Linked DNA regions of Homo sapiens: regions 1 and 2 are each linked to region 3. The links are contacts of gene promoters, found by promoter capture Hi-C in blood cells and fetal thymus (Javierre and others, 2016). All regions are on one chromosome and are shown on one strand. Each heading gives the region's core, a stretch centred on a gene start or on the middle of the fragment in contact. The rest is flanking DNA. Distances are from core to core; before and after follow the strand shown.

Region 1 (4,757 bases), core at 468-2,967, 580 kb after region 3:
TTTAGATATAATTCCTAGGGAGACATTCATCTTTTTCACAGTCAACAACATCCATCTAATAAATATTTATTAAATATTGACTATGTGTGGAGCCCTGGCCTACATGCTTAGGGTATCTGAGAGAATCAGACACAATTCTTACAATTCAATAGAAGGAGTAAAAGTGTCAATGGATAAGTTCAAAGATGTGTTGTAAGTGTCAGAAGTGGATGGGGATTTCAGTGTGGACACAGAGGGAGCAGTGTGGCCTCCTGAGCCAAGGAAAGGTGTTCAGGAAAGACTTCCCAGAGGGGTGGCATGTGCATTCCAGGCAGACCGAGCAGCCCTGGAAAATGCTGAGAAGAGGCATGCAACAGTGATGTGTGCCTGAAACTCAGGTGGCTCTGTGTGATCAGAGCAGAGCTTCCTGACCCTCCATGTGGTGGCATGTGCAGAATATGTGAATGTGGATTTGCAGCACACTGAAGGGAGCTGCCTGCTGTGCATGGCCAGAGGTGATGGGCAAGGATTCCTGCTGCTGCCCAGCTGCCTGAGTTAAAAGTGTCCATGCCTTGGCACACCTATAGCCCATTCAAATTCAGGTCACAGGGTGTGAGCAATTAAAGTAGGAGAGGCAAGCAAGGGCCATAGTATGCAGGAGGTTATATACTATGCTAAGGAATTGGATTTTATTTTGTAGGTAATGGCACACTGTTGAGACTTTTTGACTAGGAGATGGTATGATCAGCTGTGCTCTTTGGAAAGATTATTTCTGTGGCACTGTGAAAAAGAAATGGGAGGGTGGTAAAATCCGAGTTATCAGCCAGTTGGGGATCTTGCTGAAATCCACGTGAAAAATGATGAAGACCTGTTGTAAAGATAGATGAAGAGAATGTGAGTAGAACTTGGTTACTAAGTAGTTATGAGGCATAAAAGAAAAGGGGAACCCAGGATGGATTCCCTGATTTTGTGTTTGCATGATGGGCAGTGCCATTCACCAATTCTGTGCATAAAAGAGGAGCAGGTTTGCATCTATATGACTTTTGTGTCTTAGATTGATATAAGCTGCCTGTGTGATAGCCAAACAGAGGCATCCATTTAACAGTTGGCTCTTTGGGACTGGAACTGAGCAGTGAGGTCTGGGAAAGAGACTTGGATGCATGAGTCACTGGCATCTGGGTGGCAGTAGAAACCAATGAGCAATTGAAATTGCCCAGAGGAAAATATAGAGTATGGAGAGGGACTGACAGAATCTTGGGAGGATGGAGAAGAGAGAACTTCAAATGATACAAAAAGAAAAAAGAAAAACAAGAAGAAAGGGAGGGAAACTAGAGAACAAAGGATTCAGTGCTGCAGATATCAGGGAGGTTAAGCGGGATGACCGACCAAACCTGGATTGGGCATTTAGCTGGAGTGGTTTCAGAAGAGTTGACGAGTGAGCAGAAGATGGACAAAAATGATGGTAGACTGTTTCCCAAGAAATTTGGTTGTAAAGGAGGAAGAAGAGTTGCTAAGAGGGGTACATAAGATCAAGGGAGGATTTACTCAAACATATTTACAGGCCACTGAAAAGGATCTAGTCTACAGGGAAGGAAAAGTTAGTGGGTGCATCTCCCCTAGGTGTACAGGGAAGGGGTTCTTAGAATGGGCGGAAGGATGCCTCTACATCCGAGACTGAGGGGAAGGAAAGTAAGATCAGGAAGTTCCTACCTGACAGGAGAGTTTTCTCAGGGAAGTGGAAGGAGGCCAGGTTGTCTGTTGAGGAGGGGTGAGGATGGAAGTAGAGGCAGGAGTGGGGAACAGGAGAATGTATAGAGCCAGAAGCATCTTAAGCAAAGTAGGGAACAGTGCTGAGGACTCTACTGAGGACAGAGGCATGAAAGAGCAATACTAGTAACTTTCTGTGCTGTTCTCTTAAGCTACCTTGGCTGGGTGATGAGGCAGGGAAGCAGGTGGTTGGATAAAATCCTTGCCTGATAAAAGTTAATGTTAGCAGTTGGTACGGAAGGTGCATCAGATAGATAGGGGCTAACAGTGTCGAGGATACTGGGAGGAGTGATGCTTCCGGGGTGTCAGTTGAATGGGGAGGATGGACCAGGAGAAAAGGCAGATGTCTCAATGAGATGAAAGATCTTCTGGGGGAGGGGAGTGGGAAGGGAAATTTTGACCCTGGATTGGTGAATTGGTGGTGAATCTTCTAGAGAAGATAATACTAAGGTCCATGGTGTGGCCATGGGAGAGACTACTGAACAGTTGTCCGGGGCATGGGTCTGGGGGAACTGGATGGATTGCCCACGTGAAGGCCACCTAAGACTTGGCATTGAGACTACAAGCCAGTAGTCTCTTGATGAGTGAGGGGCTGTGATTGGAAGGACTGTGGTGACAGCAGCAAGGAGAAGGAGAGCCATATAGCACGGATCTTAAAGGAGGTGGGCTTCACTTTTGTTCTTGTTCTTCTGTGGTCTGGAAGTGGCAAAGGGAGCTAGTGCCCCTCCAAGCCTTAGCTGGGTGCTGTGGGAGAACAAGCAGCCTCTTTTCAAGAGGAGGACTCTGAAGGACTCAACCTGGGGGTAGCAGGTCACACATACGTGGGGTTTTGTACAAAGAATTAGATGGAATCTGGTAAGGTAATTGCATCTGGAAGATTTTCTGTGTATAATTAACACTTTGAAACTCTGTCTTCCTAAAATTTCTCCCATTTTATGTAATTTAGGTGTGTTTATCATTTAACCCTCAAAGCACATTGGTGGCGACTGGAAGTATGGACACAACAGCCAAATTGTGGGACATTCAGAATGGCGAGGAAGTTTACACCTTAAGAGTATGTCAATAATGTTAATAAGCCTGTTATTTGTGTTCATTCTTATTTGTGTTTTTGTTACAAAATGAGCTCTAAGTTGGAGGTTGTTGAGTTGCTGGTTTTCAAATTTTAGTGGTGAAAGAGTGTCCCTACTGGTTTCCTGGCTATTCCAAAAGACTTGGGTGGAGGTGCTGGGGAAGTCCAAGGAGCTTTTTATTTTGACTAACTTTAGTCTGCAAAACACATAAACTATATCTTAGAACCCATCACCATCTCTCTGGCTAAAAGGAAAGCAGGTGGAGGCTGGCACTTTTGGAAGAGGCAGAACTGGAGAACCATGACAAGAGAATCCTTAGAGCAATGACTGTGAGCACACTCTCCTCTGCCCGCTGGTCTTTCAGCCATCCTGTATCACAAAAGTCTGAAATGACAGAGGGGCAAGTGACCAGAGGGGAAAAGGCCAAAGGGCTCTGCCCACAGAGTGAGTGCTGTGGGGCATGCTCTTGTGTGTCACCACCATGTGCCCAGCACCTCCCCGCCATCTGTCACTCTCCCCTTCCTCCCACCCTCCCCTTCCTCCCACCCTCCCCTTCCTCCCACCCTCCCCTTCCTCCCACCCCAGCCCAAGTCACTGCAACAAAACTAGAGTGACCCTATGTTGTAATCAGCAGGAACAGCCAGATGGGAAATTCAGTTTCCTTGTCCTTTCAAAATTATAAGTACATTTTTAAAAACATGATTTGTTTCCTCAGAAAGCTTTTTCTAAGCAAGTTAAAACATGGACTGCAAAAGAAAAAAAATCACCATTTTAAAATAACAGTAATGGCTTTTCTTTCTTAAATCTGAGTATCTAGCATTATTAGTGTAAGTATACTCTTTCTGTTCTCAGTTCTTTTTTCGTTTTTTTTTTAAATCATTACTATCTCTTCCTTCAGGCAAATGTGCAGGGAAAGGTCCCCATTAATGCCACACTTTCAACTAAAATGACTCCTTTTACAGACGTGCCTAAGAGCACTCAATGGGAGGGGTCCTGCTTGGCACACCTGTCTGCGCCAGAGAGTGAATTTGTTTTGCGTACTTAGAATTCGAATATTCAACTACATTTCATTTTGTCCTTTGAAATCAATCAGAAAAATCAAGTTATAATTCAACTTTTCTAATTCTTTGTATTATTTAAAAGTATACTTATGTTAATTTACTAAAATAATGAAGGAATCAAGGGATATATGTACTCCAACCAGGATCCCCTTATCAGAGTTCCAGAATCTGCTGTGGAGAGTGGTTTCTTCCCATTATCTTACAGTTTGATTCACTAACACTAGACAGTAACCAGCTGAAAGTCAGGCCAAAGGCAGGAATTTATCAATCGATTTCATGTCAAGTTATCTTAATAATTTCCTTTTTAAAAGTAATTAGTTTTATTTCATACACTGTTTACTTTTGCATACCATGTGTTATTAGCCCATGGCATCCCCTGCTCTGTAGTGTTTCCAAGGCAGTGTAAAGGACGTCCTCTAGTTTCCCCAAATACAACCTCTTTCTTTTGTTTTTAATCAATATTATTAAGTTAAATGAACTAGCTGTGTGTAAGTCACTAATTTTTAGTAAACTCACAGTATTGTGCAGCCATTACCAAAACCTAGTTTTCAAACCTTTCCATCACCCCAAAAAGAACCCTGTGCCCACGTGCAGACACTCCCCATCCTCACCCCAGCCAACCGCTGACCTCCGTTCCTAGAGCTCGGCCTTCTCCAGCATTTCCTTTTAGACTATGATATTGTACGCTTGCAGAAATTGTTTTATCTGCAGGTATACTTGACAGTATCTGCTCTTTTTCTAGGGACATTCTGCCGAAATCATCTCCTTGTCATTTAACACCTCAGGAGACAGAATCATCACGGGGTCTTTTGATCATACCGTTGTAGTGTGGGACGCTGATACTGGAAGGTAATTCTTAGTTCTTAAGAATTGTTTTAAC
Region 2 (5,084 bases), core at 327-2,826, 560 kb after region 3:
TATGAATTACTGTTGTTTTAAAACAACTTAATAAATATTTAAAAAATTTCTCAATTTTAGTTTTTAATATGGAAAAAAACCAAAAACTCTTTGGTGTCCTAAATAATTTTTAAGAGTGTAAGGTGATCCTGAAGCCAAATTTTTGAGATGTACTAGTTTATATCCACAGGCAGAGGCAGTAGAGTAAGGTGGTTAGGAGGCTCTGTCCAGTTTTTATTAGCGCTGGGCTGTTCGGATGGAATATATTCTATGGATCCATCTTCAAGTTCACAGATTCTATTCTCTGTCATCTCTACTTTTGAACTCGCTTAGCAAGTTTTTTATTTTCATTATCATATTTTTCAATTCTATAATCCTCATTTGGTTTAATAAATATTTTCTGGGATTTTCCATTTTTTCATTTGTTTCAAGTGAAATTGTAAATGATTATTGAAGGATTTTTATAATATCTTCTTTAAAGTCCTTGTCAGATGATTCCAACCTCTGATTCATCTTGGTATTGGTGTTTGTTGATTGTCCTTGGTATAATAGGTGATTTTTAAAAAATTGTATCCTAGACGTTTTGATTATTACGGGGATCCTTGATCCTATCTAAACCTTCTAATTTGGCGAAATCTGCTTAGATTTGTCATATGTGCTCTTGGGCTACTTTTGCGGGCGTTGGTTACAATGGTGTCTGTAGTTTCCTAGGCTCTTGCAATGTTACTGTCCTTTGTTTTTTCGGGTACTGCTAAGGCTCCTGCTCAGTCACTGCTGGCGCCACCTGCAGGGCGCAGAAGGTACTTCCCTAGTAGGCCTGCTGTCACTGAGTGGCCTTCCTGGTCACTTCCCGGCCTGATTATGCTGCTGGCTGGAAGGCAGGGAAACGCAGGGCTTTGCTGAGGCTGCCTCAGTGCCTGGTTGTGGAATGAGGTCTGAGACATCCCTGGATGTCACCGTTGCCCCTTTTGCAAGTGGATAGGACTGTCCACCAATGGCCTGGCTGTGGAGTGGGGTCTGGGAGGTCCCAGGACTTTGTTGATGGGGCTGCAGCCAGATCCAACTGCCTGCTGGGGCCCAGAATGTGCACTGGGAACTGGAACAGCCCCAAGCTTCCACTGGGGGATCAGACTGCTTGCAGGGGCCCCATTTGTGGGTCAGGGAATAGGGCCCTCTTGTCCTAGTTTTGGGGTGTGGAATGCGGTGATAAAAAGAAAATCCGGGAATCTCACCATGTAGTCGTTCCTCAAGCCCTGAAACCTATAGCCAGTCTACCTTCTTCCATCCAACTTTCTATTATTTTTTCATTGTCTATTGGACAATTTCAAGGGTATTTAGTTATATTTAGAGGGAAGGACCAGGGAAAAGTTTGTCTACATGATCTTGTTTTGGAACTAGATATCACTGCTTATTTTTTGTTAAAAAATTAAAAATTTTAAAAATAAAAATGGAAAAAACTGTGGCAAGGTAGGTTAACTTTTGACATAGGTGGTTATCGTAAGTGTTTTATAACATGTTTGTTTATTTCTATAGGAATTATGTTGGAATATGAAAAACATGGAGAATTAAAGACTAAGTCCATAGATTTGCTTGATCTTGGTCCCAGGTAAGTAAGCTGTAGGATTCAACAAATAAATGTTCACTGGGAAGCCTTGACACAGAGTGATGTGTGGATGAGCTGCATAAACTGCAGATAATACATTATGTTTTAAAAATTGTTCTTCTGTGGTGTGTTAGTTTCTGTTTGTTTCAGGGAGTTGTATCTGAGGGTCTTGCTGAATGAAGAGGAAGTGGGAAAAGGGTTATCACTCTTTTCTTTTTTTTCTAAGGTCTTAAAAAAATAAACCTTTTAGTTTATGATTTTAGAAAGGCCGTGAAGGTAGAGTTTCCACACCCCGATTCCCCTGATGTTAACATCTCAGATTAGCGGTGTACATTTATTAGGATTAATGAACCAGTATGATACATAATTATTAGCTAAGGCCCACTTTATTCAGTTTTTCTTAGTTTTTCCCTAATTCCTTTCTTCTGTTCCAGGATTCCATCCAGAATCCTACATGACATTTAGCCATCATGTGTCCTTAAGCTTCCTTAAGCTGCGACCGTTTCTCAGACTTCCCTTATTTTTGCTGACCTTAATTTCTTTCTTTTTCTTTCCTTTTTTTTTTTTTTTTGAGACAGAGTTTCACTCTTGTTGCCCAGTCTGGAGTGCAGTGGCTCGATCTCGGCTCATTGCATCCTCCGCCTCCTGAGTTCAAGCGATTCTCTGTGCCCAACCAGTGACCTTTACATTTTTGAGAAGTACTTGTTACTGAGTTTTAAGAATATTACTGAGCCTGTTATTTTCTTATTAAATACTTCATAGGGCTGACTGCATATGTTCCTCCTCATTAATTGTCATGGGGCAGAAAAGGGAGACCTAATCTCTATTACTGAAGCTTGGTATTAGCCCAGAGGAAACCTCTTGTGATGTAATAACACCCAGAGTTCATTCTCTTTAGTAAATCTAATGCAAATAGCTGGGCGTGGTTGCTCACACTTGTAATTTCAGCACTTTAGGAGGCCGAGGCAGCAGGGTCACTTGAGGTCAGGAGTTCGAGAGCAGCCTGGCCAATATGAGGAAACTCCGTCTCTACTAAAAATACAAAAATTAGCCAGGCATGGTGGTGCATGCCTGTAGTCCCAGCTATTCAGGAGGCTAAGGGAGGAGAATTGCTTGAACCCAGGAGGCAGAGGTTGCAGTGAGCTGAGATCGCGGTGCTGTACTCCAACATGGGTGACAAAGTGAGACTCTGTCTTTAAAAAAAAAGAAAAGAAATCTCATACAAAACTCCACTTCAAGGCCAAGGCCAAGTGTGGTGGCTCACACCTGTAATCCCAGCATCTTGGGAGATCGAGGCAGGAGGATCACTTCAGGCTAGGAGTTTGAGACCAGCCCGGGCAACACAAAATAGCAAGACTCTGTCTTTGTAAACAAACAAACAAACAAACAAACATCCTACTTCAAGAGAGAGTCAGACTAGTGATTATCCTGTGAGAGCCTAAGTTCAGATAAGGTGAAAATAATCTCAATGGGTGAAAATCACAAAAGAAACAAAACAAAAATGTTGTGTTTTAGGTTTGTGGCCTGAGACCGTAAGCAAAAGGAGCTTTCTTATATGGGCTGCTCTCTAGTTTTATAATGAGTCCACTTGACACCGTAACTGATGAGAGAGGGGCTCTCTTAATCCTGGAGTTGCTGCCACTTGAGAGGTTTGATGTTTCTGGGAGCACGTGTCTAGGGTGGGGCTGGGGCATGGCTCAGAGGATGATGGTCTATGTAGGGTCCAAGTCTTATTTCGGGTGCTTGGCACAAAGAAGGTAGTCAATTGATATTTTTTTAAAATCAAAGAATGAACAGTGGCACAGATAGTTTCATTGAATACAACAATCTTTGTTATTTTCAGAAAAGATGAGGCCTAATATCAAACCCAACCTGTGATTTTTGTAAATGGAACATGTTATTGATTTGTTTGATGATGCTAGCATGCAGGAAGTTTCTTTGTGAGACATTTGTTTATTTAGTCAGCAATTATGTATATGTACCTTCAACACATATGTAAGAATCTAATCTGGGTTAGATTCTATAAGAGGCTATAAAGATATTACTCATAATCCCTACACTTGATAGGCTTTTTGTCTAGTTTGAGAAACAACTTGTACAACATAGAACATCACACAAGTGGTACAGATAAGCTTCTATATGAGAGAATAACCTCCAGCTAGACATTCTGCAAAACCACAGATTTTTATATCTAAGAAGTATGAATTATTAGGTGATTTCAAAAAGGACTTGTGGGCTGTGAATCCAGGCACTCAACACTTTGAAAGTCTTCATATTAACTATAGTCACTCAATCGTGCTGTGCTTTCCTGAGGAGATATAAGGCATAGCCACTCATAAACATGACCTTTTGGTGATATGAGAAAGTAAATAAATGTCTCAAAAAAGTGTGAATTTTATTTCTAGTTTTGTGCAAGAATCTGGAAGTATTGTGCCTGTAAAAACACTGGCACCATAGATGACATGCTGGAATTATTGCATGAAAATCCTACAGGGTTGGAGCGTGTAGATTATCTGGTTAATTTGGATCTTGCGAGGAAATCTGTTTTTATATAAGTTGTTGAAAACGTTTCAAAGGGGCATTTTTACCCTTTTAATTGTTATGAAATTAATTATCTTTTTGACAATGAAATATCTCAGGGTTTATCCAAGTTATTATTATGGATGGTTCCTGGTTCATTTTTGTTCAAAATATTCACTCCTAATCTAATAGATTATGTTTCTTGAGAGCTGGGACCATATCTTTTACACACCCAGTGCTAAAGCAATAGTACCAACTCAATAAATGTCAATTGAATGAGCAGGTTCCTAGCTCGGTGCCTTGCACAAAACTGGAGCTTAATGTTTGTTGATGAGGTGAAGAGGGGGATACTTATCAGGGGCCACATTCATGGGAATTGGATACTGAGACAGAAGTGGGTGAGTCAAAGGTTTATTGGGCAGTGACACTTGTGACAGTCCAGGGCATGAAGCAGAAGCAGGATCAGGCGGGAGGAGCCATCTGACCTCGATGAAGAAGGCGGGACAACAGAATCTCTGCCAATCTGGAAGAGCTCAGGAGCAAAACTTGCCAGCTAGAGGAGTGCCTCACAGGGAGAAACGGCCAGGCTCTTGCTCTGCCCCTGCTCAGCTGTGGACGGAGAGCCACCAGAGAAGAGGCAGCCCTGGCCTGGAATGCCAAGGTACAGCCTGAAAGAGCTGCAGCTAGAAGCTGTCAGGCAACAAAGCTCCAACCCTGACTCTGGGCTTGATTCTTTCTTAAAGGTGGGGGAATCTGCATAGTGCATCTTCTGGACACGTGTGTGACATGATTTGTGAAATGGCTCTTTTTTGGATGCTTCATGGTGTATATACATTGATACCTTTTTTTGAACGAATATTATTCTGTGCCAGCAACATTTTTCAGAATTTCTATGAATTATTTGAATGCTAGAGAAAATTTGAATCTATCTGTATATTTTTCAGACCAGTTATCTTTCAGGGAAACAATATTTTAGTCTATA
Region 3 (4,960 bases), core at 8-2,507:
TAGATCATTTTCTTCCAGGTCCTCCCAATCCTAAAGAGATTACGTAAGAATCTAGCACCTTTTAAAGATCTGAATAGGAAACATTTGTCATCCATTGTCTCTAAGGGCAGCCACTATAAGACTTCAAAAGAACCTTGGTCTCCACAATCTTTTATTTTAACCTCAACATTTCCTTTCTATGGGTCCCAGGTCTTCAACTGTCAACCAGAAAATGTTTAAATTTACCTACAGCCTTGGAAGCCCCTGCTTTGAGTTGTCCCACCTTTCTGAACCAAACCAATGTAGTTCTTAAATTTATTTGATTGATGTCTCATGCCTCCCTAAAATACATAAAACCAAGCTGCGCCCCAACCACCTTGGACACATGTTCTCAGGACCTCCTGAGGGCTCTGTCACGGGCCATGGTCACTCACATTTGGCTCAGAATAAATCTCTTCAAATATTTTAGAGTTTGACTCTTTTCCTCATCAGTTTAATTCTTAGGCCCAGCCAAGACCCCAAGAGGGGAGAGGAAATATTTTCACTTTCCCTACACCAGTGTTAAGAAGCCCAAGAACGCAATTCAGAGGGCTTCCCAAATCATTTTGAAGAATGGTAACATCTCTAGAATATCAATTAGATCGTAGGGGAGTACATAAGTCATGTGTACACCTTTAGGTGTTTGTGAAAACCAAGGCATATAAAATATCACATTATTTGGCCTCAGTACATTCCCATACTGACAAGCACTGTACCATTTTTCCCCCGCTCTAAGCAAGGGCTTCCTGGGGGGAAGAGTCTGTGGTTGGGTGTTCAGAAGCAGAGAGTGCTCTCCCAAAGCTAAACGATGCCGCCAACTACTGTGAAACTTAACTTCCCCTCTCCCGGAATTCTCATGGAAGACAAGGTCTGATCAACCGAGGGCTTAAGAAGTATCAAATTGGAACTCATGGAATCACTGGCGGAGCTGATTTACATATGAGAATTCCTAAGCCTCACAGCATAGAAATTTTCATGCCAGATGGTCCTGAAAAAGTTGTTTTAATTGGCTACCAAAGGTTTACCTTGCAAACACCAAGTTCTTAAAGATTACAAAATCTAATAAAGCCGAAGTGTGAATTAAACTTAACCGCAAGAGGAGTCACCTGCGGTCACCTCGTTTCGCCCACAACAAAGATGTCTGCGCATCGCTTACCGTGGAGCCGTTCCAGTGCGTGGGCCACGCGTCCGCCCTTTTCCGCGTCACATGACCACGAACACTCTTCCGCTACGGCTCCCAGAAGGGGCCAGCCCGCGCCTTTCGCGCTTCTGCCCTGGCCCTCTGCGGGCCGCTCCGCCGGTGCTGTCCCTGGGCGCCTCCGTGCTCTCAGCCAACCACCTCTGAGAGCGCCCACTCGAGCGCCCCGGGAGCCAGAGGGCGGGGGTCCTCGCCGGGACCCTCCTGTGGGCCCAGGGGTGAGTGTTGACGTCTTCCCGACCCGCGACCTGCCGCCCGAGCTGGCTGCCAGGCCTATCGCCGCCGCCGAGACCCTCCGGCCAACAGGGACCCGCGGTGGCCCCGGCCCCCCCGGTAGTGTCTCCCTGACCCGAGTCCCGTCCCCGGGCCTCTTGCCTTCAACCCTGGTCTTTCCTCCTCCCCGGGACCTTGAGTCCCCGAGGAGAGCGAGGGAGAGGAGCGTCTTCTGCAGGTGTTTTTGGGCGAACCTCTTCACCTTGTGTGGTTCGGCGTCTCCTTTTGTGTATTAACCCGGACTTTTCCGACTGGAAAATAGGGGTTTGGGAAGCAGCGGGAGTCCCGTGAGCGTGAACGCCGGGCTTTGCAGGTCTTCACTCATCCTTCCCTGCCAAGGCCCTGACACCTTACAGGCTGACCTTAAACCTGCCTTGTTTAAAAGGAGGTTTTTGTGTTGTTTTGTGGCAAGTACATTTTGGAAAAGAAGGGCCTTGTTGGAAGCCCAGGTTGTGGCATCGCGGGTGGCTGCGGGCCACCCTGTCCGTCTGTGAGCATCCCTGCTCGCAGATGTGGCTGCAGGCAGTTGCTCTCGGGTTTCCTTCCAGGAGCTGGGAAGCCGGAGGAAAGCTGCGGTTCCTGTTCCGCCGAGCTTCTGACCTTCCTCTGCAGGACGTGTGCTACTATTACTATCGTAAAAGAACACCCCTGTCTACCTCCCACAAAGTTAGAAGCAAAGGGCATTCTCGAGGGAAGAGCACCCTTTCAAAAGTGACATGTTTTCATTGGAGAACATTAAAGGGGAAAAAAAAAAAAAAGGTTTCTGGCCCTTCTGCCCAAATATAGAACCATTTGTATTCAGGCCTCTCATCCACCGAGAGACTTAAGATGATCACAAATGTTTTGTCTCCCTGCGTGAAAAACATTTTTTCTGCCTCAATTCCGTTGGCTAATGAGAGCCCAAAAGAAAAACCCTTAGGAAAATTAGGACGATTTAGTTATACTTAGTAGTCTTTTCCCATGCAATTAAATTGCTTGGGGGACCTTCTATCTTTTGGTTTCAAAGGCTTGTATATTGGTTTTGCCATTTTTTCCAAAAGGAAATTGTGTTCTCTCCCTTCCTGTCTGATAGAGCTGCCTCCTTTCAGAATTGCAAAGTTTAGTCTTCGCTCTCCTCTCTTCTGGTATTGAAACTTTTCTGTGGGTTCATAACCTTATTTTAAAGTTCATTAATATATAGTTTTAAAAGTTTGCAGTGACTTTTTAAATATAGTTTCTTTGAAAAAGAACTGAAACAGGGTGTGCAGAGTGGCCCATCTGTGTGAACTAGGTCCACGCAGTAGGTAATAAACAACTGGAGGGTTTTTTTTGGTTTGTTTTTGTTTGTTTGTATGTTTGTTTTTGAAAAGTACATAAACATTTGCAACCACAGTCAGTTTGACTCAAGTTGTTTCGGTGACTTCCGAGGCTTTCTGGGTTCCAGTGTTCTAATACAGAAAATGAGAAAGTTGGGCTGGAATCATTGTGTCCCAAAATTGGTACACTTTCCGCTAGTGGCATGTGACTTGACTCTAGGCGGTACGTGGATGAGGATTTTTTTGTAATAGGATGTTTTTGCAATCTGTATTTATATATGTACAGCCATGGTTTAAGGTAGTGATACAAAATTTTCTTTTACAATACTTTTTTGATTTTAAAAAGTCGAGTTAAAAAAATTAACTGTAGCAAAAAGTTAATGTACTCTGTGAATATGGGAAAAAAAAAACCCATGAAGTTGGCAAGTTAGTTACTGGTGTTTGGGAACCACTGGGCTTAGAAAGTAGAAATATGAAATCATCTGTGATTCTAAGAGAGATTTTGCCTCGTTTGTTATGTAACAGAATCACGTACTGGTTGCCTACTGGATTCTAAGGTACAAAACTTCTGGAATTAACATATCAACACCAAATGAGACGTTTATTTATTGCCAAAAGATATTATCAGAAATGCCACAGTCTAACGAGGGAGAAAAAAAATCAGATTTTGATTGGTTTTAAGCAGAAAACCCAATAATTGGGATAATACAGTGTTAAATCTTAGTAGAAATCCAGTTACTTTTTAAATGTAAGTAGTTCAGCTACAGGAGAACTTGGCTTTTTCCAGAAGTTGGCATTTCAGCATCCACCTTTATTTTCTAAGTCACTAGTTTTTTACAAACTCAGATATTCTCGTAAGAAAAGATGTTGCTATAGAATGGAATATAGTAGTGAGACCTATGAGATGTACTACTAGAAAGTTCGTAAGACTGAAATGCAATGAATGGAATGCAGAGAAAGCACATTTCAAGGAGATACTGAGGTTCTAGCCACTTGGTTCTCGTTTATTATTATAAAACTTCAATTTATAATGGCCAAAGGCTATAATCTTTTTGAGGTAGCTTTTTTCAGTGTTAGTTCTGAATATGAGCTTTTGCTATGCTTGAGATACACGCAAGTATTAGAAGAGCATCTCATCTGGAATGATGCACAAAAATTGATTATAAAGGTTGCCTGTGGGAACCTGGGTGGTTAAGGATAGGATTGAAAGTGGGACACTTCCTTTTCTCTGTATAGCTTGCGTACTTTGTACCGAGTACATGCATTACTAGTTCAAAATTTTAACATCGTAAGTGAATGAAAATTTAAACAGGCCGGGCACGGTGGCTCACACCTGTAGTCCCAGCACTTTAGGAGACGAAGGCCAGAGGATTTCTTGAGCCTAGGAGTTTGAGATCAGCCTGAACAACATAATAAGACCCTGTCTCAACAAAAAATACAAAAATTAGCTGGGTGTGGTGGCATATGCCTGTAGTCCCAGCTATTCAGGAAGCTCCATTGCAATCTAGCCCGGGTGACAAAAAAAAAAAAAAAAAAAAAAAAACCAATTCATTTGTTCTTCTTTAACATATATGTGTACCTATATGCATATATATACGTAAGTATTAGATTCATTTAAACTTACGTATTTTTCATCTGCCACATTTTTCTAAATACAAATCAGAAACAATGACAGAGCTAGTCTTTTATATTGCCTTAACTAATGAATAGTTGTAGGACCCCATCTGTGGAACTAAGATTGGTGGTAAGCTTAATTTTTTTCTTTCTTTATTTTCTTACTGGTCTCTTGATGTCAGGTTGTGCATCTTTGTGACTGTTACTATTTGGAGAATTTCCAGTAATGAATCCCTAATAGTGGTTTCATCTAGTTTCTCAATTAGCCCCTGTTTTTCTTCCCCAGGGACAAAAGTGGCTCTCAATCCAGCACATGCACATTGAAGCAAGTTAAAGGATTTAATATGAAGCACAGAAGCAGATAGTGCCAAATAGCAAGCAGTAGTTGTTACACATTTGTGAGTAAAAATGGTCCCTTTTGGCTTACTTTCTTAGTCTTTAAATCGTCTGCATGCCAAATCCTTAAAGATCTATGTCCCCAGAGATTTTTTGATAAAGAATAAAAGATGTGAGTTAGCAGTCATAGTCAAACCAGTTGCTGGGGCTGAGCGTCCTGAGCAAC

Evidence for each region. Contacts are between HindIII fragments. The CHiCAGO score rates a contact against its expected background, and 5 or more counts as called.
Region 1: a contact is called between a fragment that was not itself captured here and the fragment with the promoter of MFF in region 3, in 1 of 17 cell types (M2 macrophages). The highest score is 5.0, in M2 macrophages.
Region 2: a contact is called between a fragment that was not itself captured here and the fragment with the promoter of MFF in region 3, in 1 of 17 cell types (M1 macrophages). The highest score is 5.6, in M1 macrophages.

Annotation. Positions count from the first base shown.
Region 1 is chr2:227,900,310-227,905,066 of GRCh38, forward strand. It overlaps DAW1 (dynein assembly factor with WD repeats 1), which reads left to right. Exons shown (of 13, transcript NM_178821.3): 7 at 2,693-2,800; 8 at 4,620-4,726. Among named protein-coding and RNA genes, the nearest start is that of DAW1, 31 kb to the left of the region's middle. The HindIII fragment of the contact is 3,631 bases long and covers 1-3,533 here.
Region 2 is chr2:227,883,839-227,888,922 of GRCh38, forward strand. It overlaps DAW1 (dynein assembly factor with WD repeats 1), which reads left to right. Exons shown (of 13, transcript NM_178821.3): 2 at 1,513-1,585. Among named protein-coding and RNA genes, the nearest start is that of DAW1, 15 kb to the left of the region's middle. The HindIII fragment of the contact is 974 bases long and covers 1,090-2,063 here.
Region 3 is chr2:227,323,994-227,328,953 of GRCh38, forward strand. MFF (mitochondrial fission factor) reads left to right here and starts at 1,258. Exons shown (of 9, transcript NM_001277062.2): 1 at 1,258-1,434; 2 at 4,685-4,796. It overlaps MFF-DT (MFF divergent transcript), which reads right to left and starts at 1,171. Exons shown (of 14, transcript NR_102371.1): 1 at 1,125-1,171. RefSeq lists an enhancer at 1,080-1,129 and a silencer at 1,310-1,599. The HindIII fragment of the contact is 6,653 bases long and covers 1-4,531 here.